5 separate regions of the Homo sapiens genome follow, and regions 2, 3, 4 and 5 are each linked to region 1. Evidence: promoter capture Hi-C in 16 types of primary human blood cells and fetal thymus (Javierre and others, 2016). All regions are on one chromosome and are shown on one strand. Each heading gives the region's core, a stretch centred on a gene start or on the middle of the fragment in contact. The rest is flanking DNA. Distances are from core to core; before and after follow the strand shown. Region 1 holds the start of ADAMTSL3 (ADAMTS like 3). Region 2 overlaps ADAMTSL3 (ADAMTS like 3). Region 3 overlaps ADAMTSL3 (ADAMTS like 3). Region 4 overlaps ADAMTSL3 (ADAMTS like 3). Region 5 overlaps ADAMTSL3 (ADAMTS like 3).

Evidence for each region. The method cuts DNA at HindIII sites, captures the fragments that hold promoters and counts their contacts. A CHiCAGO score of 5 or more calls a contact.
Region 2: a contact is called between a fragment that was not itself captured here and the fragment with the promoter of ADAMTSL3 in region 1, in 1 of 17 cell types (M1 macrophages). The highest score is 6.6, in M1 macrophages.
Region 3: a fragment that was not itself captured here is called in contact with the fragment with the promoter of ADAMTSL3 in region 1 in 3 of 17 cell types (M1 macrophages, M0 macrophages and endothelial precursors); the score reaches 8.4 in M1 macrophages.
Region 4: a fragment that was not itself captured here is called in contact with the fragment with the promoter of ADAMTSL3 in region 1 in 1 of 17 cell types (M1 macrophages); the score reaches 5.4 in M1 macrophages.
Region 5: a fragment that was not itself captured here is called in contact with the fragment with the promoter of ADAMTSL3 in region 1 in 1 of 17 cell types (M0 macrophages); the score reaches 5.4 in M0 macrophages.

The regions. Positions count from the first base shown.
Region 1 is chr15:83,651,667-83,656,388 of GRCh38, reverse strand. ADAMTSL3 (ADAMTS like 3) reads right to left here and starts at 2,266. Exons shown (of 30, transcript NM_207517.3): 1 at 2,113-2,266; 2 at 559-660. The coding sequence starts at 627. RefSeq lists an enhancer at 3,628-3,797. The HindIII fragment of the contact is 5,383 bases long and covers 1-4,081 here.
Region 2 is chr15:83,979,986-83,985,474 of GRCh38, reverse strand. It overlaps ADAMTSL3 (ADAMTS like 3), which reads right to left. Exons shown (of 30, transcript NM_207517.3): 21 at 2,131-3,202. Among named protein-coding and RNA genes, the nearest start is that of GOLGA6L4, 250 kb to the left of the region's middle. RefSeq lists a silencer at 1,563-1,752. The HindIII fragment of the contact is 4,490 bases long and covers 1,808-5,489 here.
Region 3 is chr15:84,028,311-84,033,667 of GRCh38, reverse strand. ADAMTSL3 (ADAMTS like 3) reads right to left here. Exons shown (of 30, transcript NM_207517.3): 28 at 2,236-2,333. Among named protein-coding and RNA genes, the nearest start is that of GOLGA6L4, 200 kb to the left of the region's middle. The HindIII fragment of the contact is 1,662 bases long and covers 879-2,540 here.
Region 4 is chr15:83,954,905-83,960,015 of GRCh38, reverse strand. All of the region lies in intron 19 of ADAMTSL3 (ADAMTS like 3), which reads right to left. It overlaps LOC105370935 (a long non-coding RNA gene), which reads left to right. Exons shown (of 3, transcript XR_007064744.1): 1 at 1-5,111. Among named protein-coding and RNA genes, the nearest start is that of GOLGA6L4, 280 kb to the left of the region's middle. The HindIII fragment of the contact is 620 bases long and covers 2,567-3,186 here.
Region 5 is chr15:84,004,024-84,008,935 of GRCh38, reverse strand. The region is part of intron 23 of ADAMTSL3 (ADAMTS like 3); the gene reads right to left. Among named protein-coding and RNA genes, the nearest start is that of GOLGA6L4, 230 kb to the left of the region's middle. The HindIII fragment of the contact is 2,845 bases long and covers 1,761-4,605 here.

The DNA.
Region 1 (4,722 bases), core at 1,017-3,516:
CTCTTAGGCAATGCTAGCCTCATTCCTTTGTTTGAGTCTGTCCTTTAGGCAAATAAAGATGCAATTCATGAGCCGGGTCCTCTCAAGTTGGTTGGAAAAGACAGCAGAAGTCTAAAGAGAGGACTGTGGGATAAAACAGTGGGATATGTGATGATAGATGTAAACTCAGAATATTTATTTAGCAGCTTAGCTAGGGCCAGAACCTGGCTCTGCCCATTGTTTCCTGGTCTCCAGCAACCCAGCCTCTGCTGGGCACATGCAGACAGCCATTCTAGTCTGAAATGACAGGGTCCATCACAGCCCCAGGTCATCACCGGTGTATGGTATCCACAGTGCTATTAAAGCCCTACTCAGGATTCAGAGAGGACCCAAGGGATCTGGATAATCCTTACAGCTAAGCCAACCAGAAATACCATTGGCTAGAGATAGGAAAGAAAGTCTGGTTCTCTGGTGTAGGATTAACACTAATCATGCCACATCTTAGGTGGTATACAATAATGCCTCTGAGTAAACAGAGGGATGTCCACCATTTCCCTTCCCCTCCCTATATGACCTTACCTGCGGGAGGGGAGAGTGCATGAAGACCATCCCTATCAGCACCCACCAGGGGCTCGTCCAGGAAGCCATGGGGTCTAGTCTCCTCCGGGTCTCAGTTGTAGCCTACAAACGAGGAAAGAGTTCATTACCAACCAGCTCTGGCCCCCATGGCAGTAAACCGTGACTTAAGCGACCCATTAGATGGAGGGACCCTGAAGCCCATATACTATTTTGGAAAGGTTTGTGTTGGCCCAGGTTGCCGCTGCCTACTGCAGGGTGCAGGCTAACTGGGCTCCCTTTAGAAGGTCCACAACAAAGTCAGGCGAGGGCTGGACCTGTCTCCAGTGGGCATCTCATACCTCCAGCTCTTCAGAAGCTGAGATATCCCTGCCCAAGCCTATCTGTCAGCAGCAGGGTGTCGCTATTGGCATTTGACTCAGGAAGCCAGCACAGAGCCAAGGTTTAGGCTAGCTTCTGCTGCTCGCGGCAAAAATGAGTCTAAGACAACAAAGCCGCCCAGAGAGGGAAAGGACCTGCCTAAGGTCACACAGCAAGATAGTGACATTTTAGGGCTGAAACGCAGATCTTCTGATAGTTCAAGGCTTTCCTCGCTAGATGACACCGTGCGCCCTCGAGGTCCGGGACCCACACCCAGAGAGACGCCTGAGAGCTAAGTTCAGGGAGGTTTGGAGGACACAGCCCCTGAGCCAGCCTAACACAATCTCCTAAAAGTAGGTGAGGGCCAGCCAGCAGAGGTCAGCTGAAACCAGGAGGGAAGCGGGGACTTTTTCCCTTACTTTTCCTGTCAATTTACAGGGAAATCAGTATGAGTCGAGACTGGAAAAGCCGAGGTCACACTCGACTCCCGCTTCGCCTCGCGGGCGCCTTGGCGGAGCTGGTGTCCGGGGGCGGGTCGGTGGCTTCTCTCCATCTGGAGAAGGCATTAAGGGCCTGGTCTAATGTGATCCGCAAATGTGCTGCTGTTTCCGACCTGAGGCGGCGACTCCTGGCTGAAGGGAGGCGGCCAGTGCGGGGCCCTGGGACTCTGCGCCACCCTCGCCTGCTCGCACCAGCCTTCCGAGTGCACACTCCTCCGACTACCCGCTGCCTCGAAGTCGCTCCTCCAGTGCCTCCGCCGCGTCCCGGTCACCCCCACGCCCACTTTCCACGATCGCGCGTCGCCTCAACCCCCGGCGTTCTGGGCGCTCGCTACCCAGTGGTCAACCGGCCGGACCTTCGGACCCGCGAGGTTTCTGCTTAGTAACTCCCAATCCTGAAAAACTCCAACCCTGTGGAGTTCCCCCATAATCAAGAACGCCCCTCAGCCCGCGAACTGCCGCCGAAAGACTCTCCCTGAACCTTCCGGGACGGCACGAAGCGCGCCCGACCCGAGGTGCCCAGCAGTGAGGAGCACCCCAGTCCTGAGGCCCCCTGGGGCCCGCGTGGCACGCCCCGACTCTGCTTGGAGACCCCCAACTTGCTTAGAGAGGCCACTGCTCCAAGTCTTACTCCCTCTGGGGAGCGCCTTCCCCCGACCCCTGAGGGGCCGCCCTGCGCCGAGCTCGGTGCACCCACCTTGCGCCGCAGAAGTATCTGGGACGTGCAGCCCCGGGGCCGCGCGGGCTCGGCGCGCGCTGGGGAGAAGTTGGCAGAAGCCGCCCGTCAACACCTCGTGCGGAATCCGGCACCAGGACCTTCCCCGACGCCGGCCTCCAGCCCGCGGCGCCGCAGTCGCCGCCGCCGCCGCGAAGTTAAATGGGGCTGGGACGGGGGCTGCCCCGCCTCTCCCGCCCCCTCCGGGCGCGCAGAGCGCTGCGCTGGCCCCGGCCCAGAGGCGGAGGGCGCGCGCCGCCACCTGCACCGCCCGGCAAGTGCACGGCGCGCCCAGGCGCCCGTCAGCCTGCGCGCCGGCACCGCGCCCTCGGCTTGAGCTGGAGGCGCCGGGGGCGCGAAGAGACGCCGTGTGGGGCCAGGCCCGGGCCGCTCGGAGCGCGCGGGGCCGCGGCGACGGCGGGACTCGGCTGGAACGCTCCTCCGCCCGCTTCCTGGAAGCCACTCCTCGCCCTGGGCCGGCCGCCAGGCGTTGTGCCAAGAGCCGGGATTGCCGACGCCGCCACCGCCGCCGCCGGCAGGCGCACTGGGGAAAGGCGGCCGCTGCGCCGCAAGCCAGCCTGGCCGCCCCGCCTCAGCCGGAGCCGGAGCAGGGATGCCGTCGCTCCCCCCGAGCCCACCCCCGGCCCCACCTCCCATAGCCTCCACCCACCCCGCCCAGACCCGGGCGCCAGCTCTGCAAAGTCAGGCCCAGCAGCCACACAGAGGTTTGCCCGGAACCGCTGGCTCGTGCCTAAGAGCCATAGGCACTCCTGGCCAGGCAGGACCATAGTGGAGACCAATGGCCCTCTCCTGGCCTGCGCCTCCTCCGCGCAGCATAGACGCCACACAAGGGACTGTGGAGCGCTCACTGCCCAGAGGCCTGGGACCTTTGGCAGCCAGGGACCACGAGGATCTTGCAGGAGCGCCTCTTAACTGGGTACCTGGCGCCTCCTTGTCTGAGCCGGGCTTGGGGAACTGAGAGCTCCACAGGTGCCAGAATCATGCCGTGTCCAGGCCTGGGATTTGGGGTTGGGGGGAAGAGTGTCGCGGACAAGAGACTGGGGTGAGTTGCCTGTGTACTTCTGGAGGTGAGGAGAAGTAAAAGGAAATGTTTGTCCCTGTCCTTGTCCTAGTCCCAGCAGGATAAGCCAAGGGCCAGGAGATTGATCTTAAAGGCTGCATTATGCCCCCACCTAAGTCCTACCACAGTCGCCATTTCCTTGGGTGTCTGTCGAGTACCAAGCTCTTTGTGTCTATCTGATCTTCACAGCAGCAGTAGTTCGAGCATTATCCCATTTCACCTAGGATAAATCTGAGGCTGGGAGGATAACTTGCCCACCATGAGTGGAGAAGCCAGGACTGGAACCCCTATCTGCCTCTCTCTAGAGCCTGGACTGTTCACCCCTAAAGTTGTTCTCCTGCCTTCTCTGTGGTTGCTGCGTTCCGGTTACTGCTAGAGCTTTGCCAAGAGCAATTGGCCCTGCCTGCTTTCCTCACTCATTCTTCCCTTACTTACTCTGGTGACTTCCTCTGACCAAGAAGAGGATCTTCAAGGCTGTCTCTCCACTCTATGTAAAATGATTGGACTTGTGGCAAGTGAGCAGAGGACAGGTCAGTGTGGAGACAGGAGAGGTAAGAGTAGCCAGTGAAGGGTAGGGAGGGCTGGGCTAAACTAGAACTAACTCATCTATGGACAATCGATCCTTTTTATTTACTGTAGTTGTGGTCTATAAAGTCACAGAACAACGAATTTGTGAATATGGAGCCATTGTTCCTAGGGGAAATATAGAGTTGGGTTCCTGCAAGCTCACAATATTTTTGTCAATCAATCAACACATTGCCTTATTTTATGCATGTTTCTGTTTAAAGACGCCTTACTTAACATCTATTGTTGATTCCTGAACACTGAGCTCACAGCCTACAGTGCTGTAACTCATGCCTGAATGAAGCTTATCTAACTTACGTATTTTCTCTGCAACACACATCCCAGCCTTCTTCCACTTAGGAACGCTAGACTTCACTTCAGCACTGTGCCTGGGGGGTGCTTTAAGCAGCAAAATCATCAAAAAAAAGACCAAAAAAATGTGAAAACATGGCAATGAAGAGAACTTTTGGGCCACTCATTTACAGTGTGAAAGCTGAAACAAGAAGACAGAGGGTTGACTGGTTGGACCTTAGCTTCCAACATGTGTCTCAAGAGACTCAAAACGTTCAGCACTGGTTCAATGACTTTGAAAGTGCTGCAGCTATTGATTATGAGGTGTTAAAATAAAAACTTTAGACAAATTTAACAGAGGTTAATTGAGCAAAGAACAATTTGAAAATAGGGCAGCCCCCCTCAGCCCCAAAACAAAATAGATTCAGAGCAACTCTGGGGCTTCCACATAGTCAGATAATATTTATGGATAGAAAACGGAATATGATGAACAGAAAACGGAAATGAGGTACAGAAACAGCTGGATTGGTTACAGCTCGGCATTTGCCTTATTTAAACATGGTTTAAACAGTTGACCGCCTGTGATTGGCCAAAACTCTGTGACTGCTTCAAGAGTAGGTTACAGTCTGTTTACACATCATCAGGTTACAGTTTAC
Region 2 (5,489 bases), core at 2,803-5,302, 330 kb before region 1:
TTTTTACTTGAAAGAATGACCAATAAACTATGACAAAAAAGTCCACACTATGATTTAAAGTTGGGTATTTGGTAGATATATATATATATATTTTTTAAATGAGCTGGCCAATTCAATGACACAACTGACAGTATTTGTTGCCAATGATGAAAAAGGTTTGATGTGAAAATTAGAATTTTGGAAAACTGGTATCCACCACTGTAAGTCTGACAGCTTCCCAAAACTTAAAGACTTTTTTTTTTATGAGATACACGGTGATTTTTTTAAATGTGTATTTTTTTTACATTGCATAATGAAATGCACCAACATTTGGAAGGCCTGTATCACTCAGTGAGCCAATATTTTCCAAATGACCAATGTATGGTGTTAAAAAATCTTGTATGGGTAAAAAGTCTATTCAAAATGCAAGAAAAAAACAGCAGATTTCATTAAACAGAGTACCAACATTTCATTAATATAGTTTCAGATTGCACATTTCAACTAACCTTTGAGAAATGACCCTTTGTCTAGTTTTAGTGTAGAATTAAAGAGTATCCACAATTATCTGAAAAGATATTAAAATATTCTTTCTCTTCCAGCTAACACATTTGTATAGCACACATTTATTTTCTCCATATACTTTAACTAAAACAACATTTCACAACAGATGTGGAAAAAGAATCCAGCTGTCTTCTTTTATTATACCAGACATTAAAGAGATCTGCAAAGATGGAAAGCAATTCCACTGTTATCAGTAATTTTGGTGGCAGGGGGAGGGTTTTCAAAAAATATGTTATTTGTATGAACATGTTATAGGCCCATTATTTTTTCTAAATAGATTAATGGAGATATTTTCAATGTTTCTTGGTTTTAATTTCTAGTGAGGTAAACAGCAATAGATACAACTCACATTTACAAAAGCTCTTTAGGCTCCTCAATCATTTTTAAATTTTAAAGAGTCTAAAACCAAAAGCTCTGAGAACTGCTATGTTTTAAGGTTTATTCTACTTCTAAAATTTCATTGTACTCTTGTGTTCATAGTTCTAGCATTAAAAATTCAAAAATTAGATTTTTTCTACCTTTTTAAGATATAGCCTAATAGTTTATTATTTTAAAAAACTGAATTTTACCTAAGTTTTTTCTGATGTTTCACATACGAGGCTCAATGCACAAAGGACATGATAAAAGTAAAACTTGCATTTTGAAAGTACCTTGTGATATGCAAAACAGTTTCACATCTGCTGTGTTATTTGTGTCTCTTAACGATCTCTAAAGGCAGATAAGGTAGAGCTGGAGCTCTTACATGTGAATCAAAAGAAGGCACAATGTCTATAGTACTTTGTATACAAACAGCAAGATTTGAAGGCAATAAAGAATGCAAAAGTAAATTAGTATCTGTTATGTAAAATAAAGGAAATGTGACATTTTTACACTGGCATAGAGATCAGAATAATATGTGACTTAATACTGTGTTTTGAACATCTCAAAACACTATGATTCTTATTTTTGGATTGTATGACATTTAAAAATTGCATGATAATAGAAAACTACTTCAGATACCCAAGCTTTTGACAAGGCTACGTATTTGTGTGATACTCAAATACCACTGGTGGGTATTCAAGAGATACGGCCCTTGGTTCTGATTGGCCATGAAGTAGTCATGGGATTCTGCTTCTCAATTACCTCATCAGAAAGGTTAACCCCTGCCCTGCCAATCTCATGGGGCTGATGTGAGCTCAAATAAGATACCACATCTCCTAGACATGGAAGAGCTCTGTAAATTCTGATTTGCAGTTCCAACATAATGTAGGATTACTATTAATAAGCTTACTTTTAAAATGGCCTTATATTGATTTTATTTTTAAATGCCAAGTGCTGAGTAAAGGGGGAGTGTATATATGCTTAAACTTATTCTTGCTGGATCCAGTCATATCACACCTCTACGACAGTGATTGGGATGATATGGCGGTTGAATTTAAAAATTCCAACGTATATGTGAAAAACACATCTTAACATTTTTTAGTTTCTTTCCTAAAGAATCCTGTTGGAAACACATGCTTAGGAGAGGAATTTGAAAATATTTTCAAGAAAACTGGAATAGCCATTAAGAAGGTAGTGCAAAAATGAATACTGCATTTTTATTTTACTTACTTTACTGAGGGCTGTAACAAGGTTCCATCCTTGGTCCATGTATATGTGGCCTCACTGGGGGTAATAAGGTCACACAGTATATTGATGACCTCTGTCCTTTTTGTAATGTATACTGTATTTCCAATCCTGGAATTTATTGTTTTATTAAATGAAATTGAGGGAGGTTGGCTTTGCCTCATGAGAACAGGTCCTTTCGGCTTGAATGTCAGCTTGCCTGAGTTTTTTGCATGCGAGCTTTGGGACACACTCCCTGTTTCCCCTCTGAGCTGAGCAGCAGGAGGTGTCTCTTCCTGGATGCCCCGCCACTGCATGTGTGTTGGCTGTGCCTTGGCTAATTCGGCCACCAGCTGATATATCAGCTGGGACGCAAGATCATCGCTGACCTCTCCGGTTTCCATGAGCTGACTCATGTTTCTTATCAGCTCATCAAACTGGGCTGTATCCATGCTATATGCTCCTTGTTTAACTGCTGCTTCAAACTGCTTATTCTTCAACTCCCAGGAGTTGGTGCTTCCTGCAGAATTGCTGCAGTGGCCTAACAGAGCTCTCAAGAAAGGCTGGTTACTAATGTGGTCATCATCCAGATAAAGGTCATTTTTGTTATTCCACATTTGCCTCATTTTGTGCCATGTGACTCCCAAACTATTGGCTTCGCTGTGGTCCATCCCAGGATATTCCCTCATAGGCTCCCTGAGGGCTGGGCGTGCGATGAGCCGGTTGTCAGTACCAATGAGCTTGAGCACAACTGTTTCCTGTGCAGAGCCTGCAATGCACCGGTACACGCCGATGTCGGGGGCAGCAAGACCATGGATTTTTAGTGAGCCTGACTTGGTGATGCCAAGCCGTTTGGAGTTCTGCAGGCAACGGCCATCCTTCTCCCACTGGATCAGAGATTTCTGGAATCGTCGCACGGGGCACTTAATAATCACGGATGTGTTGGGCAGCAAATAGGCTCTGCTACCAATGGTCAGGTTAATACGCTTCTCTTCCCTTGTCTGAATGTAGACTCTCTGGACACTGAGGATCTGCGGACCCTGCTCACCAAGTTTTGTCTTCATCTCTGATTTGATTTCTCCAAGAAAAAAAAAAAGAAAGAAAAGAAAATACGAATAAACATCTCAAAAATACAGACTTTTTGACAGTAATCTTTCAAGGCTGATACAGGCTAACAAACGTATCTTTTTTACTATTTTAAAACATTCAAGAATAAAACCATGAATAACATTATACATCCACAGATTGGGGTAAATTTCACAACTATCTAGTACTTTAGTGGCAAAGAATGCAAGTGTGAATGAGGTGCATGAAAATGTGTAAGTGATTTGATAAAACCCTGGTTTGGGGAGGCATGAGGTTAAATGATTTGGTGAAATGTAGGGAATAGTTATTTCTAGATTTGAGGAATATTTGTTCTAGGCCATGCTCATATAATGGCTCCATAAATACCCAGCCTCTGGGTACATGTTTCCATCAATAAGGGTCTGATATGTCAGGTCTCTACTATCTGGCAGAGAGGCCCTCTGGCTTAGAGCCATGGGTACCCCAAATCTGAGGGAGGAAGTGAGAGTGGGAATGTGAGCAAATGTATTTGAAGGGTCTGAAAGGAGGCTGAGGTTGGCCAGCTGCAGAATATAACCCAAATATGTCGATTAAATTGGCATGGGGGTCTGAAGAAGCAATGGGTAGCCGTGATCAAAAAAGAACAGGTGGCATAGGCAGTTTGAAGTCAGATAAACCTGAGTTTGAATCTTAGCTCTGCCACTTGGACAAATTCTTTCATCTCTCTGAGCCTCAGTTTCCTCACCTGTGAAATGTGAATAATGTTAGTGCTTTCAATGGGAGGGAAGTAAAAATTAAGTCAGATTGTTTATATCAAGTGCACAGCACAGTAGCGGGCACATAATGAGCTCTCATATATAACTGCTGCCACCACTGATCTGGTGACAAGGGCAGGTGCAGCCAATGCACAGCAGGGAAGACTAAGAGGGAACAGAGATGGGGTTGGCTTTGACTTGTTCCTGGGCATCGATCGGCTCCTCTTAATGGGCTAGGCCCAAAGACAATACTTCTCAGATCCTGTCCCCAAGAGAAGTATTTCTCTCCCTTGTTTCACCTGAGAGAAGGCTCAATGTGTTCTGGGGTGATTCTGAGGTAGGCATGGGAGAAGGACAGTGATATGGGTGGAAGTCTGGATCCTCTTTGATGATGTATTTAGGTTCCTGAGCAGATTGTGGAGTGTAGGATGGATGGCTTGGAAGCACTAGTGAGTGGCAGAAGAGATACTGGACTAACATCAAGAATACCTCTGGATTTAGAAGGTCATGCAATGGGGACCTAATTTACCTTGGGGGACCCCAGTTACAGGTCCTCCTTGTTGTAGCACACGCTGGGAGAAGAAGCAGATTGAGACTTCTCTTTCATAGCCTTCTCAGGCCCTTGGCGCTGGCTACAGTGTGTTTACTGGTACCCTGAGAACTGAGAATAACTGAAGTCCTCTTGCACGCCTCATGAGCCCTTTGAAGTCTGGCTGCCTACTGGGGTTTCGTGGTGTCAACAGGTTCAGGGAAACAATGGAGGTGAACCCATAATTTCTGTGGTAGAGAATGTTCTCAGTGAAGGACATACATAATTTGTTTGTATACAAATTCCATACAGATGCAATTGGTAGGTCAGGCCTATTGATCTCAGGATGGGTCCAGGGTTCTGCTTGAAAATGCTCTGTCACATCATCTCTAAGTGGAGCTGGATGAACTGCCACATACATACTTTTACTTTTTGGGAGACAGAGTATCTACAAAGTATGTCAAATGGCCCAGCCAGTTAAGCCATGTAAATTTCCCCTAATTTGGCTAGAATACAATTTTGAACTTTCTACTGTTCAACAATCAAAAGCTGAAAAACATGTATGGAAGACTCCCTGGTAAATTTATAGTCAATCCATTACTATAGATAATATAGATGGTGTTCAAAATACTAAATCTTCACAGCAAGGGCTCAATCAACAGAATGTGTCTGGCCATAGCACTGGAATAGGGTCTTGGAGGCCTACTATGGTACGAAGTGTTAACCCCATAGTTGTTCGATTATGGACAAGTCAGGCGGTTACTGGCAGAGTGGCCTGAGCAGGTGAGAAATGCTCATGGGGTTCCAGCAGAGGCTGTTTACTAATTCTTTTTTTTCTGACCATATTTCTGACCATGTCCATACTGGTATGTGCAGGTTCAATATCAACTCTGACCACAGATGCTCTAAAAAAAATGGCTCTCAAATTTTGCTATTTGTTAGAATCACCTGTTATTGTTAGTATTCACTAATCTCAGTATCCTGGGTCCCATCCCCAGAAATTCTGACTTACGGGG
Region 3 (5,357 bases), core at 460-2,959, 380 kb before region 1:
TGTTTTTTTGAGATAGAGTCTTGCTCTGTTGCCCAGGCTGGAGTACAGTGGTGTGATCTTGGCTCACTGCAGCCTCCACCTCCCAGGTTCAAGCAATTCTCCTGCCTCAGCCTCCCAAATAGCTGGGATCACAGGCATGTGCAACCATGCCCAGCTAATTTTGTATTTTTAGTAGAGACAGGGTTTCACTATGTTGGCAGGCTGGTCTCAAACTCCTGACTTCAAGTGATCTGCCTGCCTCAGCCTCCCAAAGTACTAGGATTACAAGTGTGAGCCACCATGCCCAGCCAAGCATGTGGTATTTTATAGGTCACATTGAGGATTTGGTCAATCTTCCTAAGAGCAAGTAAAACCTCTAAAGTAATTTTAGTCTAGCAGGGAGATGGGTTGTGGTGGTGGTAGGATCAGATTTGCATCTGGGAAAACTCACTCTGGCTGTACTGTGGAGACTGGGTTGGAAAGGAGCATGGATGGATGAAGGGGGACCAGTTGGACAGCTGTGACAGTATACCAGGTGAGATACGATGGTGGTTTGGCCAAGGGTAATGGTGGCAGAAAAGAAAAAATGAAGATGAGTTCAAGAAAAAAAATATAAGGAATAAAAAATCATATAAAAAAGTAATCAGGAAAGTACACATTACAATGAGATAAATTTTCATCCATCAGATTGGCAAAAATTTTAAAAGACTGCAAACCTATATCATGTTGATGAAAAGGGGGCAACTCTCACATATTGCTGGCATAGAAATTTTGATGGCAATTTGATAGCATCAAAATGAGCATTCCTACCAATTCAATTCCATTATCTAAAAATCTACTCTATAAAAATATTACCCTTTGTACCCAAAGATATATGTTCCAGGATATTTACTGAAGCTTAGTTTATAATAGCAAAAAGTTTGAAACTATCCAATGTCCATTAGCAACAGAATATTAAGTACAAAATTTAGATAGAATATTGAGTAGAATAGAGTATTAAGTACAAAATTAAAAAGAATAAAGTTAATCTTTACTTGATGGGAATTATCTATAATATATTCTTAGGTAGAAAAAGCAAGTTTCAGAAAAATATGTATGTGACCCATGTATGTATTTGTGCTTTAAGTATATCTTTGTGAATGCAAAGTAAAGCACCTGGGATGATGCATATCAATCTGTGTGTGGTCTGTATCTTCTCAGGAAAATAGGAAACTTAGGTTGTCTGTTGAGAATGAGAGCAGCCGTTCCAAACATTTTCCATTTGAGGAGAATGGTTTTGGCTTGAAATCACTTTGTGGGGAATAGGAAATGCAACTGACCCTACATTGCCAAACCTTACTGAAGGCTCAAAATGGTAACCCAGCCAACTGTCAAGGTCATCTCATTTTCTCCAGCAAGACTCAGGACATGGAAAAGGAAGAAATAGCCAGATATTGAGCATCTTCCATGACCCAGGCTGCCTCGTGTTTCACACTAAGCTAAATCATTAAAACTTTCTAAACATAAGTTCACATGGATGATAATATCCCACTTTGCAGATTAGGTGGCTAGGCAGTCCAGGGTCACACAGTAAGTGAGTGATATAATAGAACTCCCAAGCCCCCGATTAGTGTGCCTTCTAGGCTCTCTCCCCACTTTCTGCTGGCTGGGGTGCTGTTCTCTTGGATGGTAGAGCTGCCAGATGGAGGGCATCTGGATCTCTGGATGACCCCATGAAAAAAGCTCTTCTATCCCTAAACCATCTACCAGCTCAGACTTTTATAAAAGGAGGAAAGCAAACTCCACCCTTATTTAACCTCCTCAACAAGATTAAAGTTTATTTTACTATCTGCCAACCACTGTGACAATATCCTAATCAAAACATTTTCTAAACAGAGAAATAAAGCAGTTCATTAAAAGCATTAAGAAGATTTAATCTGTAAGCCTAAATGGAATATTATTAGGCTTGATTAACTTAGTATATAGAGGGAGAAGTATCTCCGTTTTCTCAATGATATCCTTTTCCCCTTTTACCACATAGAGTGGTGTCCCTTTATTGTTTAACATCCAAACAATTTATAGTTATAAATAGTGCACATTAACTAGTATTTCAGTATAATATATACTATTGAAGATGACACTAAATAAATCATAATTGAAAACTGTCAATTATGAGAGTTGGTAGAAACTAGAAAGGATTCCATTTTCAGGCAGTTATAATCATTGTCCTGAGTGAGTCAGGAGAGAATGTGTGCTGCTCTGGGGTGGGGCCCCTACCTCTTTCTGTCATCACAGTTGGAGTCAGAGCTGTTGTGTTGACAAGCTGTGTGACGCTGCTGCATCCTCACAGCACGGCCCATGCAACGTCCAGGACACTGGAACAAAAAAGCACAGTGCAGTGTAAATCCTGCAAGCTCATCCATGCTGTGTGTACTAAGATCATGTACTGAGGCAGGATAGCTGAAGACCTATTACAAGGGGACTGTAACCAACTGTCCCCAGGGGGGAGTTAAAGAGGATTAGGGTACAGCTCTGTGGACCAGACACCTCTTTTTCAGAGTCAGGAAGAAACTGCCTAAGCTTACCATCCCCTCTGTATTAGTCCATTTTCACACTGCTCTAAAGACATACCCGAGACTGGGTAATTTACAAAGGAAAGAGGTTTAATTGACTCACAGTCAGCATGGCTGGGGAAGCCTCAGAAGACTTACAATCATGTCAGAAGGTGAAGGGGAAACAAGGCACCTTCTTCACAAGCGGCAAAGAGGAGAAGTGCCAAGTGAAGGGAGAAGAGCCCCCTTTATAAAACAATCAGATCTTGTGAGAACTCACTCACTATCATGAGAATAGCATGAGGGAAACTGTCGCCATGATCCAACTGCCTCCACCTGGTCTCTCCCTTGACATGTGGGGATTGTGGGGATTAAAATTCAAGATGAGATTTGGGTGAGGACAAAAAGCCTAACCATATCATTCTGCCCGTGGCCCCTCCCAAATCTCATGTCCCTTTCACATTTCAAAAGCATTCATGCCTTCCCAACAGTCCCCCAAAGTCTTAATTCATTCCAGCATTAACCCAAAAGTCCAAGTCCAAAGTCTCATCTGAAATAAGGCAAGTCTCTTCTGCCTATGAGCCTGTAACATGAAAAGTAAGTTAGTTACTTCCTAGATACAGTGGAGGTACAGGCAGTGGATAAATACACCCATTCCAAATGGGAGAAGTTGGCCAAAATAATGGGACTATAGGCCCCATACAAGGCCAAAATCCAATGGGGCAGTCAAATCTTAAAGTTCCGATATGATCTCCTTTGACCCCATGTCTCACATCCAGACATGACCCCGTGTCTTCCATCATGCTGATGTAAGAGGTGGGCTCCCATGGCCTTAAGCAGCTCCTCCTCTGTGGCTTTGCAGGGTACAGTCCTCACTCCTGGCTGCTTTCATGGGCTGGTGTTAAGTGACTGTGGCTTTTCCAGGCACACAGCACAAGCTGTCAGTAGATCTACCATTCTGGGGTCAGAAGGATGGTGGTCCTCTTCTCACAGCTCCACTAGGCAATGCACCAGTGGAGACTCTGTGTGGAGGCTCCAACCCCACATTTCCCTTCTGCACTGCTGTAACAGAGGTTCTTTATGAGGACCCTACTCCTGCAGCAAACTTCTGTCTGGACATCTAGGGTTTTCCATACATTCCTCTGAAATCTAGGCAGAGGTTCTCAAACCTCAATTCTTGACTTCTGTGCACCTGCAGGCCCAACACCATGTGTAAGCTGCCAAGGGTTGGGGCTTGCGCCCTCTGAAGCAATGGCCTGAGTTGTATGTTGGTTCCTTTTAGCCATGGCTGAGACACAGGGCTCCAAGTGCTCGGACTGCACAAAGCAGCAAGTTCCTGGGCTCAGCCCAGGAAACCACTTTTTTCTCCTATGCCTCAGGGTATGTGATGGGAGGGGCTGCTGTGAAGACCACTGACGTGCCCTGGAGACATGTTCCCCATTGTATTGGCATTTTGCTCCTCATTCCTTATGCAAATTTCTGCAGCCAGCTTGAATTTCTCCTCAGCTCCTCAGAAAATGGGTTTTTCTTTTCCATTGCATCCTCAGGCTGCAAATTTTCCAAACTTTTATGCTCTGCTTCCCTTTGAAACATAAGTTCCAATTCCAAGTCATCTCTTTGTGAATGCATAAAACTGAATGCTTTTAAGAGCATCCAAGTCACCTCTTGAATGCTTTGATGCTTAGAAATTTCTTCTACCAGATACCCTAAATCATCTCTCTCAAGTTCAACATTCCACAGATCTCTAGGACAGGGGCAAAATGCCTCCATTCTCTTTGCTAAAGCATAGCAAGAGTCACCTTTGCTCTAGTTCCCAAGAAGTTCCTCATCTCCACCTGAGACCATCTCAGCCTGGACTTTATTGTCCACACCACTATCAGCATTTTGGTCAAAACCCTTCAACAGATCTCTAGGAAGTTCCAAACTCTCCCAAATCTTCCTGTCTTCTTCTGAGCCCTCCAAACTGTTCCAGTCTGTGCCTGTTACCCAGTTCCAAAGTCGCTTCCACATTTTTGGGTATCTTTATAGCAACATCCCTCTCTCTGCTGTACCAATTTACTATATTAGTTCATTTTTACACTTCTATAAAGAAATACCTGAGACTGAGTAATTTACAAAGGAAAGAGGTTTAATTGACTCACATATCTGCATGGCTGAGGAGGCCTCAGGAAACTTAAAATCATGATGGAAGGCAAAGAGGAAGCAAGGAACTTTCTTCACAAGGCAGCAGGAAGGAGAAGTGCCAAAGGGGGAAAAGCCTCTTATAAAACCATCAGATCTTGTGAGAACTCACTCACTGTCACAAGAACAGCATGGGGGAAACTGCCCCCATGACTCAATTACCTCCACCTGGTCTCTCCCTTGACATGTGGGGATATTGAGGATTATGGGGATTATAATTCAAGATGAGATCTGGGTGGGGACACAAAGCCTAACCATATCACCCTCCTTTCTCCCACAAAACTTAGACCACCTCTGGGGAGAAGGAAAAAATGACAGGGCAAATCTTGAATCAATTGGGTTTAAGTCCGGAAATGACTATGCTTAAAACCATAAATGTCTGCCAAGTTTGGGTTTTTCTGCTGTGAGCAAAAATGAAGACTTGTGTGCTAAGGTGGGTTCAATTACAGGAAAAAAATTTTAAAATTTTGACATTCAGTTCTTAAAATTTTTACTTATTTATAATAATACCTATTAATTTGTCCTTATAATTTATTTTATGCTTAAAAAGGTCTTTACTGTCATGATAGTTCTACTTGCATTTACTTACTGATACACTTAGCTCTTTAATCAAGTTAGAATTTATTTTGGTGTATGTTCTGAGTCTGTGCTCTGATTTTACTTATT
Region 4 (5,111 bases), core at 1,627-4,126, 300 kb before region 1:
AACTACTATGTGAGTTACTTTTGTTCATATAAAAGTGGTTAAATAACTGCCAATGGCTACTCAGAAGACATTTTTAATGATACATATTTGACTTTTTCTCCCCATCCTGAATGGAAGGATGGTTTGTAAACCCTTTTTTCTGGAGCAAAGTCTTCTGTGACTGTGTGTCTGCTAAGTTAAAGTAAGCATGCCATCAGAGAATGTCCACAACTCACAGAGAGAGGAGATGTCATAATCAGTGCCATTAATTATCATTCACAAAGCAGCAACTTTATGCCAAAGCTTGTCATGGTTTCCTCTATAGACATCTCGTGGATTCCTCAGGAATTGCTCATGGGAACAATATAGATTGAGTTCTTGCATCTTCAAAACTATTTGCCTGTGGCCTTTAAACTTGAAAGTCAGTTTGGCAGGATATAAAATCTTTGGCTCACACTTTCTTTCCTTCAGTATCTTAAATATGTGGCTCCACTGTTTTCTAGTATGAAGTGGTATTGTTGAGAAGTCTAGCGTCAGTTTGATTTTCTTTCCCTAATAAATGACTTGATTCTTTTGCATAGATGCACAAATATATTTTTATCTTTTAGTAGAATATGTCCTTTTTTTGAGATGGATTCTTGCTCTGTTGGCACAATCTCAGCTCATTGCAAACTCTGCCTCCTGGGTTCAAGTGATTCTCCTGCCTCAGCCTCCCGAGTAACTGAGATTACAGGAGTGTGCCATTAAGCCCAGCTAATTTTTGTATATTTTTTAGTACAGACAGGGTTTCACCATGTTGGCCAGGCTGGTCTTGAACTCCTGGCCTCAAGTGATCCACCCACCTTGGCCTCCCAAAGTGTTGGGATTACAGGCTTGAGCCACTGCACCCAGCTGAGTATGTCTTGATATTGACCATTCTGGGTCAGTTTTCCCAGGTATATAGAGTGCCCTTTCAATATGGCAATTTGAGCCATTAAGTTTTGTTCTGTTATGATTTTTGGTGGTTTTCTTTTCCTGGGACTCTATATTCATTGAATTTTATTTCCTTGTCTTTTATATATATTATCTGCACTTGAATCTTTTTTTATTTCTCTTTGATTCTTGTCATTTCCCTCCTTTTATTTTGCTTATTACACTTTCTCTGCCCAGTCATTCTTGAGTTTCTTCTAGTGTTTAGTCTACATTCTGAGAAATTTACCCTTAGTTTTAAAAATTCTTTTCTAAACCGTCAGCTATCATTTTACATTCTCCTGTTATTTATTCATCTCATTTCTTGAATTTTCTATTTCTGATTTGTTTCTACAGTTTTCTTTTTGTTTCTCTTAGCTCATTTTGTAACACTGAGTATATTTTCATCTGTTTAAAGGCCAAATTTTCATTATGTTGGTATGCTATTGATACTTTTATCTTACTGTATCTTTTTGGAGGTTTGCAGATGTTCTTATTAAATGAATTAGATTGTTTTCTGTACTTTTAGGGAAAGAGAGTGTAAGCAGGAGGGAATATTTCAGGATAGTTATCTTCACTGTTAAGAGCTTCCTCCTCTGGTGTTAAAAGGAAGTATTATATGCAACAATTTGGCCACAATTCTGGGATTTGTATCTCTGGACTCCCCAACTCCCAAGGATCTGAACATCTCTTTCCTTTACCTCTTGTGTTCCTTCTCCACTTGGATTATAATTCTGACAACTTTTCTTGGGCACTTCTTAAGCCCTTTAGTGGTTCTGCACAATCTTTCTTGCATCCAATCACACTCTGGAACCAATCACACTCTGGAGTCCTTCCTCAATTTGGCTGATTGGTCTCAGACCTATTTGCTGAGGGTTCTACTCAGAGTAGGATCATTTTCTTGTCATGCTATTTATTCGTGACATCTGTGTTCCACAACTCTTGGCCCTGTCTCTCCTCTTTTTTATCGCTGCCCAGCTGCTAATTCTGCCATTTCTGAACAGTGTCTGCACTGTGTGGTTTGGCCTCACCTACTTATATTACTTTTGTTAAAATTACCTCTGTTGTTTTTCCTTTCCTTCTGCATTCCTAATTGCTCTGCTTTTTGTTTTTTAATGAGGGATTTGGGAATAGTAACTATGCTACTACCATGATTTTGCTTCACTAGAAGCCTTCAAATAATTTTTAAAGGGACTACTGTCAATAATATACTTTTAGATATCATGGTAGTCATCTTCCATGGTTTCAACTACCACATATGTGTTGATGATTCACGCAATTATAACTTTAATGTAGATCTTTTCTGAGCTGTAATTCTTTACTGATACCTTTATAGACTCTCAAACTACATGTATGTCTAAAATAAGCCATTTTTCTCTCCCTTTCAAGTCACTTTCTGAATATGCTTCTTCTTTCTAATTAATTTTAAAATTAATGTCGTCTCATTCATTAGCTTCCCAGGACAAAAATACAAAACACTCCTCTTTTTTGCTCATGTCCTGTCAATTCAATTGCCAAATATGTCAGTTAAATCTCCTACATATTGTTCAAAACCACTTACTACTCTCTATCCCAACTGCTTCTTCATTCTCTCTTGTTGATTTTATTCCAATCACCATCTAACAAGGTTTTTCAAGCTTCAATTCCTTCTTCCTCTAATACCTTATCCATAGTGCAGCCAGAATTATATGTCTAAAACCTTACATTTTACTTCCCCATTCAAACACCTTCCAACATGCTCTCAATGACTGTAGGGATAAATCCAATACCCTAAAGCCTTCACAATCCAGCTGTAATCTCTCCTTTCCATCTCACCTACCAGCACTTACTCAGTGCATCCTGTTCTCAAGCCACACAAGACTGATAAACTCTCCCAAATCTGTGCCTTTATATACACGCTTGTCACTCTAGAACACCCCTCTGTCTCATTTCCACACAGTTTGCACTCATCTCTTAAGACGCAACTCCAAAGCTGCATCTTATGCAACACTTTCCAGTGACCCAGGCAGACTTAAACGTTTCCCTTCAATTTTCACGTAGCTCTGTAGACAGAACACCTTTATTGGGCATTTTTTACATGGTTGTAAATGTCATTTCTTCTGCCTGCCTTTTTAAACAGTGAGCTCACTGAAAACTATTCTTAGTTGTCTCTGGTTCCTGGTGCCTAGGGTAATCAACATAGCAATGCTCAGTAAATGTTGATTAAATGAGTGAGTTTGTAAGGCTATGGAAATAGGCCTATTTAGAGTAGAAGAAGCTTTTATAAATCTTTATACTTCAGCCAAAAAGTGTTTACCAAGCACCAAGTGGGATACAAACATGTGCAGAAATGGGTCTTCCCCTCTGGCAGTTACTTTGGGTCAGGAAAATAAAGTGTATTCAGGTTATGTGTGTGTGTGTGTGTGTGTGCCTGTGCGGTGTGTGTGTGTAACTTAAAACACATGGAACAGATAGAACTACATGAATTTGAATCCACTGGGCATATTTTGGATGGGTCATAATATAAGAGTAAACTGTCAGATTCAGTCTAAAAAGACACTATTATTCCAGTAGAAGAGTGCTTAGCAAAAAGGGCAGAGCAAGATGGCAGAATAGAAGGCTACATTGATCATCCCCCTACTCCCACTACCACAGGAAAACTAAATTTAAACAATTATCTGTGAACAAAAAAGCACCTTCATAAGAACTAAAAATTGGGTGAGCCATCACAGTACTTGTTTTTAATTTCTTATCACTGAAAGAGGCACTGAAGAAGGCAGAAAAGATGGCCTTAAATCACCAACACCACCCCTTCCCCATTCCCTGGCAGTGGCTGCATGGCACGGAGAGAGAATCTGTGCACTTCAGGGAGGGAGAGCACAGCAACTGGGGGACTTTGCATTGAACTCAGTGCTGCCCTGTCACAGTGGGAAGTGAAACCATGTTGAACTCAGCTGATACCCACAGAGACAGCATTTGGACCAGCCCTAGCCAGAGGGGAAGTGCCTATTCCAGTGGCCGGAGCCTGAGTTTCAGCAGTCTCACCACCATGGGCTAAGGTGCTGTGGGGTCCTAAGTGAACTTGAAAGGCAGTCTAGGAAGGACTCAGATTCTTAGGCAAGTCTGATGGTGTTCTGGGGTTAGAGCCAGTGGACTGGGGCAGTGTGTGACCTAGTGACACACCAGATGGGGCAGCTGGGGAAGTACCTGCACTACCCCTCCCTCAACCCCAAGCAGCACAGCTTGTAGCAATGAAAGCAACTCCTTCCTTCTGCTTGAGGAGAGGAGAGAGACCAGTCAAGAGGACTTTGTACTTTGTCTTGCATCTTGGATACAAGCTCAGCCACAGACAGTGCACTGGGCAGAGTCGTGAAGCCCCCATGCCAGGTCCTAGCTCCTGGGTGACATTTCTAGACACACCCTGGGCCAGAAGGGAACCCACTGCCTTGAAGAGAAAGACCAAGTCCTGGCAGCATTAATTATCTGCTAACTAAAGAGCCCTTGGGCCCTGAATAACCAAAAGTGATATCCAGGTAGTATGCCATGGGCCTTGGATGAGACTTTGAGATATGCTGGCTTCGGGTAACAGCTCAGCACAGTGGATAGAGTATCTAGTGGGCTTCAGGGGTCCCTGAGTTCAGGCCTAGGCTTTCGGACAGCATTTCTGCACCTTCCCTGGGCCAGAGGTGGGAGCCTACTACCCTGAAGGGTGAATCCCAGGTTTGGCAGCATTCACAAGCTGGCTGAAGAGCCCCTAGGCATTAAGTGATCAGCAATGGTAGCCTGGCAGAACTCTCTACGGACTGCTGATGATGATGGCCATGGGGAGAGCTCCTCTGCCTGTGGAAAGGGGAGGGAAGAGGGGGAAGGATTTTGTTGTATGGTTTCAGTGGCAGCTTAGCCACAGGGTAATAGAATACCAGGTAGATTTCTAAGGTTTTTGACTTAAATCCCTGGCTCTCAGAAAGTATCTCTGGACATGCCCAGGGCCTGAAAGAACTTGCCTCCCTGAAGGGAAGAACATAAGCCTGAAGGGAAGGACATAAGCCTGGATGGCTTCAACTCTTGCTGACTGTAGCCCTAGGGCCTTGAGTGAACATAGGCAGTAACCAGATAGTGGCTGCAGTGGGTCTTGGGTGAAACCCAGTGCTATTCTGGCTTCAGGTCTGACCCAGGGCAGTTCCAGTGTTGGTGGCCATAGGGGT
Region 5 (4,912 bases), core at 1,934-4,433, 350 kb before region 1:
AGTGTGAGAGAGGAAAGCGAGTAAAAACCGACTCCAGGATTTGTGGCTCAAGCAAATTAAATAACTGCCTTGTCATTCACTGAGATGAGGGACACTATGAGAGAAGTAAGTTTGGGAGCAGAACTCAGGAGAGCAGTTTTGGACATGTTAAGTTTGAAATAACTATTACATATCCACGGAGAGATGCTGAGCAGGCATGTGGACATGTTAATCTAGAGCTTAGGGGAAAGGTCTGTGCTGAAAATATAAATTTAACAGTTTCCAGCATACAGATGTCATATTTGAGTCCTTCTGCAGGTATGGGACCAATAGGGAGAGAGTATATATAGAGAAGAGAAAACGTCTGAGGACTGAGGCCTCGGGTAGTTCAACTTAGAGATCAGGGACAAGAGGTGGGACAAAGGAGGCTACACAGGAACAGATACTATGGTAGGTAGAAAACAAAGTGGTTTCCTCAAAGCAGAGAAGGAGGGCGTAGCAACTGTCCAATGCTAGTGTAGTCAAACGAGCAAGTAAGGTAAGGCCTAAGAACTCACCACGGGGCCTGGTGTGGTGGCTCACACCTGTAATCTCAGCATTGTGGGAGGCCGAGGTGGGCAGATCACCTGCGGTCAGGAGTTCGAGGCCAGCCTGGGCAACATGGTGAAACCCTGTCTCTACTAAAAATACAAAAAACATTTAGCCTGTAATCCCAGCTTCTCGGGAGGCTGAGGCAGGAGAATTGCTTGAACCCAGGAGGTAGAGGTTGCAGTGAGCCAAGATCACACCACTGCACTCCAGCCTGGGCAACAGAGTGAGAATCTGTCTCAAAAAACAAACAAACAAACCTGACAACTGAAGTTAGCAATTCACACTTACATGGTAAGCTGTTGGTGACCTTGACAATAGCTATGAAGGTAATGGTATGGAGAATGTTTGGTTGGAGTGGATTCAAGAGAGAATGAAGAGAAATGAAATTGAAGACAGCAAGTATAAACTACTCTTGAGGCACTTTGCTATAAATGGAAATCAAGAACTAAGGCAATAGCTGGAGAGGGAAGTGGAGTCCAGGGCAGGGAATTTAGGGATGGCTTTGCTCACCTGGAATACTTATCTCATCTCCCTATTTCCACCCTTGCCTTCCTTTTACTCTCTGATTTTTTACAGTCTATTTTCAACACAATAGCCATAGTATTTCTTCTAAAAGGTAGCTCAGATCATGACACTCCTTTGCTTAGAATCCTCTAATGGCTTCCATCTCACTTAGAACAAAAAATAAACTGCTTATGATGTTTTATGATCTGCTAACATACATGGTCTTCCCTCAACCCTTGCCCACCAACCACCTCAAAACACAGAAAAAAAACAGAGCCAGAGAGAGATGGATTTTTATTTTTTTAGTGATGGGGTCTCACTGGGCTGGAGTGCAGTGGCTATGCACAGGCATGATCATAGCATACGGAAGCTTCAAACTTCTGGGCTCCAGGGATCCTCCCATCTCAGCCTCCTGAATAGCTGGAACTATAGGTATGCATCATTGTGCCTGGCTAAGGGGTGGATTCTTGACTAAATCATTTAAGTTCCTGAATCCAGATGTATCTAAAATTATGTCCAGAGTGTCTACACTCCAGAACTTTTCGGTTTTATTAGCCAATAGTTCCTCCATTTTTTCTTAAGCCAGTTCGAGGTGGTTCTCTGTTCCACGTGACCATGGGAGTCTAGACTAAAAACTAAGGTATGAAAACAACCAAGATGGCCAAACAGCCATGCCAGCGCAAGCTTCTCAGAACAAACTGACAAAGTTACATTCCAAAAGAAAATGTCAGAAATAGGAAGTTTGAAATGAAGAGCACAGGACCACACCAGAGTACAGGACCAAGTCCTTCCTTCACACTACACACTGTCCCAGGGGCCATTTCATCTACTTTGGGAAATATAGTGATAATTCCTATGCTGAAAACTCCCACATCTACCTATCCAGTCTTAATCTCTCCCTTGAATTCAAGACTCCTGGACATCTCCCATTGGCACAACATGTCCCACAGGCACCTCAAACTCCGTAAGTCCCATAGTGAACTCCAACTCCCTCTCCTACCCCACAGGTCTGTTCAGCACCTAGAAGCATCGTTACACGTGTAAACATTTTCAAAGAACTGAACAGGCCAGAGGAAATTCAGACAGATTTCTTCGCACCACTGCTCTTTATGGTGTTTCAAAATAACACATTTGCTCTGTTGCAACAGCTATAAAACGTCAGAAATAGTTTAAACTTATTTATCTAACCTTAAAGACAGGCTATTTCCCCCAAGACTTGCAGCTCTGATATATTCAACATTCTGTTTCCACAATGCTGAAATTGTTTTGGAAGACAAATGTTGTGGAAAAAAGTTCAGAGCCGGAGGGGCTGTGAAACATGTGTTGCAAAAAGTTTGCACCTCGGGGGTGTCTTTAAACTAGTCAGTGTTTAAAAACAAATTTCCTTCATCCTTGAAAGGCCCATGAAATATTCCACACTATAAATCCCTGGCCTGTTCAGACTGCCCTGAAATGCTGGATCTTTAAATAAATATATATTATACCTATATTTTTTTCTCATGTTTGTTTCTTCCAGCTACTCAAAACTCACTCAGAATTCTGCATTACTTTTTCATATACGACAAATGAAGATTTAAGCTACCATCAGTTATCTCTGGGGAATCATGAAGAAATGATGTTGCCAATTTATAAAAGGCAAATCAAACACAGGATAGACAAAGGGAGTCATCACTAATAAATGAAAGAAAGAAATAAGAGTTCAAGGGTTCAGTGTCAGAGAAAGTATCTCAAAGCTACTAGAATAATGAATGCACTCTTCTTAACTGCAGGGCCAATCTGTGCAGCAGAGTAAATTTTGTAAGGAACGTTCCTCTTCTGAGTTAACTGCATACCCTTTTGTTCTTTTTGAAAAATACGTTATGTATGCTTTTTGGATACAATGGACTATCCATCATTGATGCCATATCCAGAACTGTCTCCAAATAGAGGGCTCTGGCTTTTACTATTTACAGAATTCTCTTGAATAGCTGTTTAAGTACTTTCTTTTCTCTAGTAAACTCATGTTTAGATTGACATAATCTGTTCCCCAATCAATTTGATTTCTGAGGATTTAGAAATCATCTGGGTCATAGTATCTATTCCCAACTCCATCATTAAAAGTCCTTCCCTAAAGGTTTTGAACTGTGTTTCTTCTGACATGGAGAAGAGTGTCAACAAGTCCTCTTCCTGGTGTGGTCATTCTCATCTCTCACGTACCCTGGGCTTCTGCTTTGCGCGAGCCTGGGCAGTTCTTTAACGCCACCAGACATATCTCATGAGCACCACACAGTTCACTGCTGGATATTGTCCTCCAGAGTCTTATTTATAGGCTAGAAAGTGCCAGTGAAAATTATTATATCAAAACCAAAAACCTTCAGTAGTTCCTTGAAGAAGAAAGTCAAGAGTTGGTGCAAATCAAGCATAGCGATACATGCTGGAGCTATGCAAGTGGTGTAAACTACTGATTCCAGTAAAGGGGATAGGAGGAACTCCTAAACAGCAGCTCAAAGGGAGAACCATGGACATTCCTGAGGCCCTTCCTGATAATCAGCAATTCTGGTAATCTATCAAGATAACATTGGGATATAGATGAACAAATAGCTATTAGCCAGTTAAAAATATTAGTTATTTGGAGATCATGCACCAAAATCTCCAAGTGGATTCCACTGCTATCACCAGCAAAACCCCAGAGGACTATGTGTGGGCTGCTGGTGTCTTGGGGTGACATCTCAAGGCCGTGTTGATTCCCCAGGACTCCATTTCCTCTTTCCTTAAACCACTAACTCTTGCCTTTGGTTCTTCTGAGCTGCACCTCTCACTCTATTTCTGGGGGGTCTTTTCTCCTCAGGAATGGTAGGGAGTAAGAGTCAGTTTTCTTAGCTCTATAGCCTTTCCTGTTCTTGGAGGAGAAAAGCACAAAAGCCTTTTCAATTTAGGGGAGTCACTGCTAAGAACAGCTATCCTCCAGCCCGGGAACTGCACTGTTCTCCAAACACACCACACTGGCTGTAAAGCTGTTCTATGTGCTGTTCTCGCCATTGCAGATCATTTGCTATTCCCTTTCACCACCTGGAACATTTCTCCTCATTCTTAAAGACGCATCTCAAAATCACTTCCTTGATCCTCTTGGACATTGACAGCTGATTTCTCCTGTGTGAACCTTTGAACACTGAGGCATCAATTGTTGGCATGCCTGATTCTACCTTCAGAATGAGCCCAGAGCATGGAGCTGGGTTCTACCATTTAGCCCCCGCTTTTAGTTCACTCCCAGTTACCCACTCCTGGTTCACTCCTAATTTGAGTTTACTCCTGTTTACTCACTCCTGGTTAATTCTAGTTTACTCCTGATTACTCACTCCTGGTTCACTCCTGGTTTACTCCTGGTTTACTCCTGGTTCTAGTTGACCTCTGGTTACCCACTAATTCCTGAGGAAGAGTCTCTCATTTTGAGAGGATATTTGAGATAATTTCCAGGGACCTCTTTGGCCCCATTTACTGGCTAAATCAGTGGTTCTTAACCTTGGCTGCACATTAGAATCTTCTGGCGAAGCTTTAAAAATCCTTGGTTCTCAGGACATACTGCCGATGAATTAAATCAGAATCTCTCAGGGCAGGGCTGGGGAGATGTTGTGGTGTCCAGGCCTGAACTGACATTAACCAAAATAATAAAATGACCTGACTGTAGTATGTGTCAGTCATCAAAATGAATAACTGGGTATTGAATTAATAACTAGGGGAAATAAATGAATGAAAAGAAAAAAAACAGGGTTATATAAGTTGGGATGTTACTAGAGAGGCCAAAATTCTACACAGGTCCTATGGGGCTCTTCCCATAAAGGAGTGTTTTTCTTCCATTAAC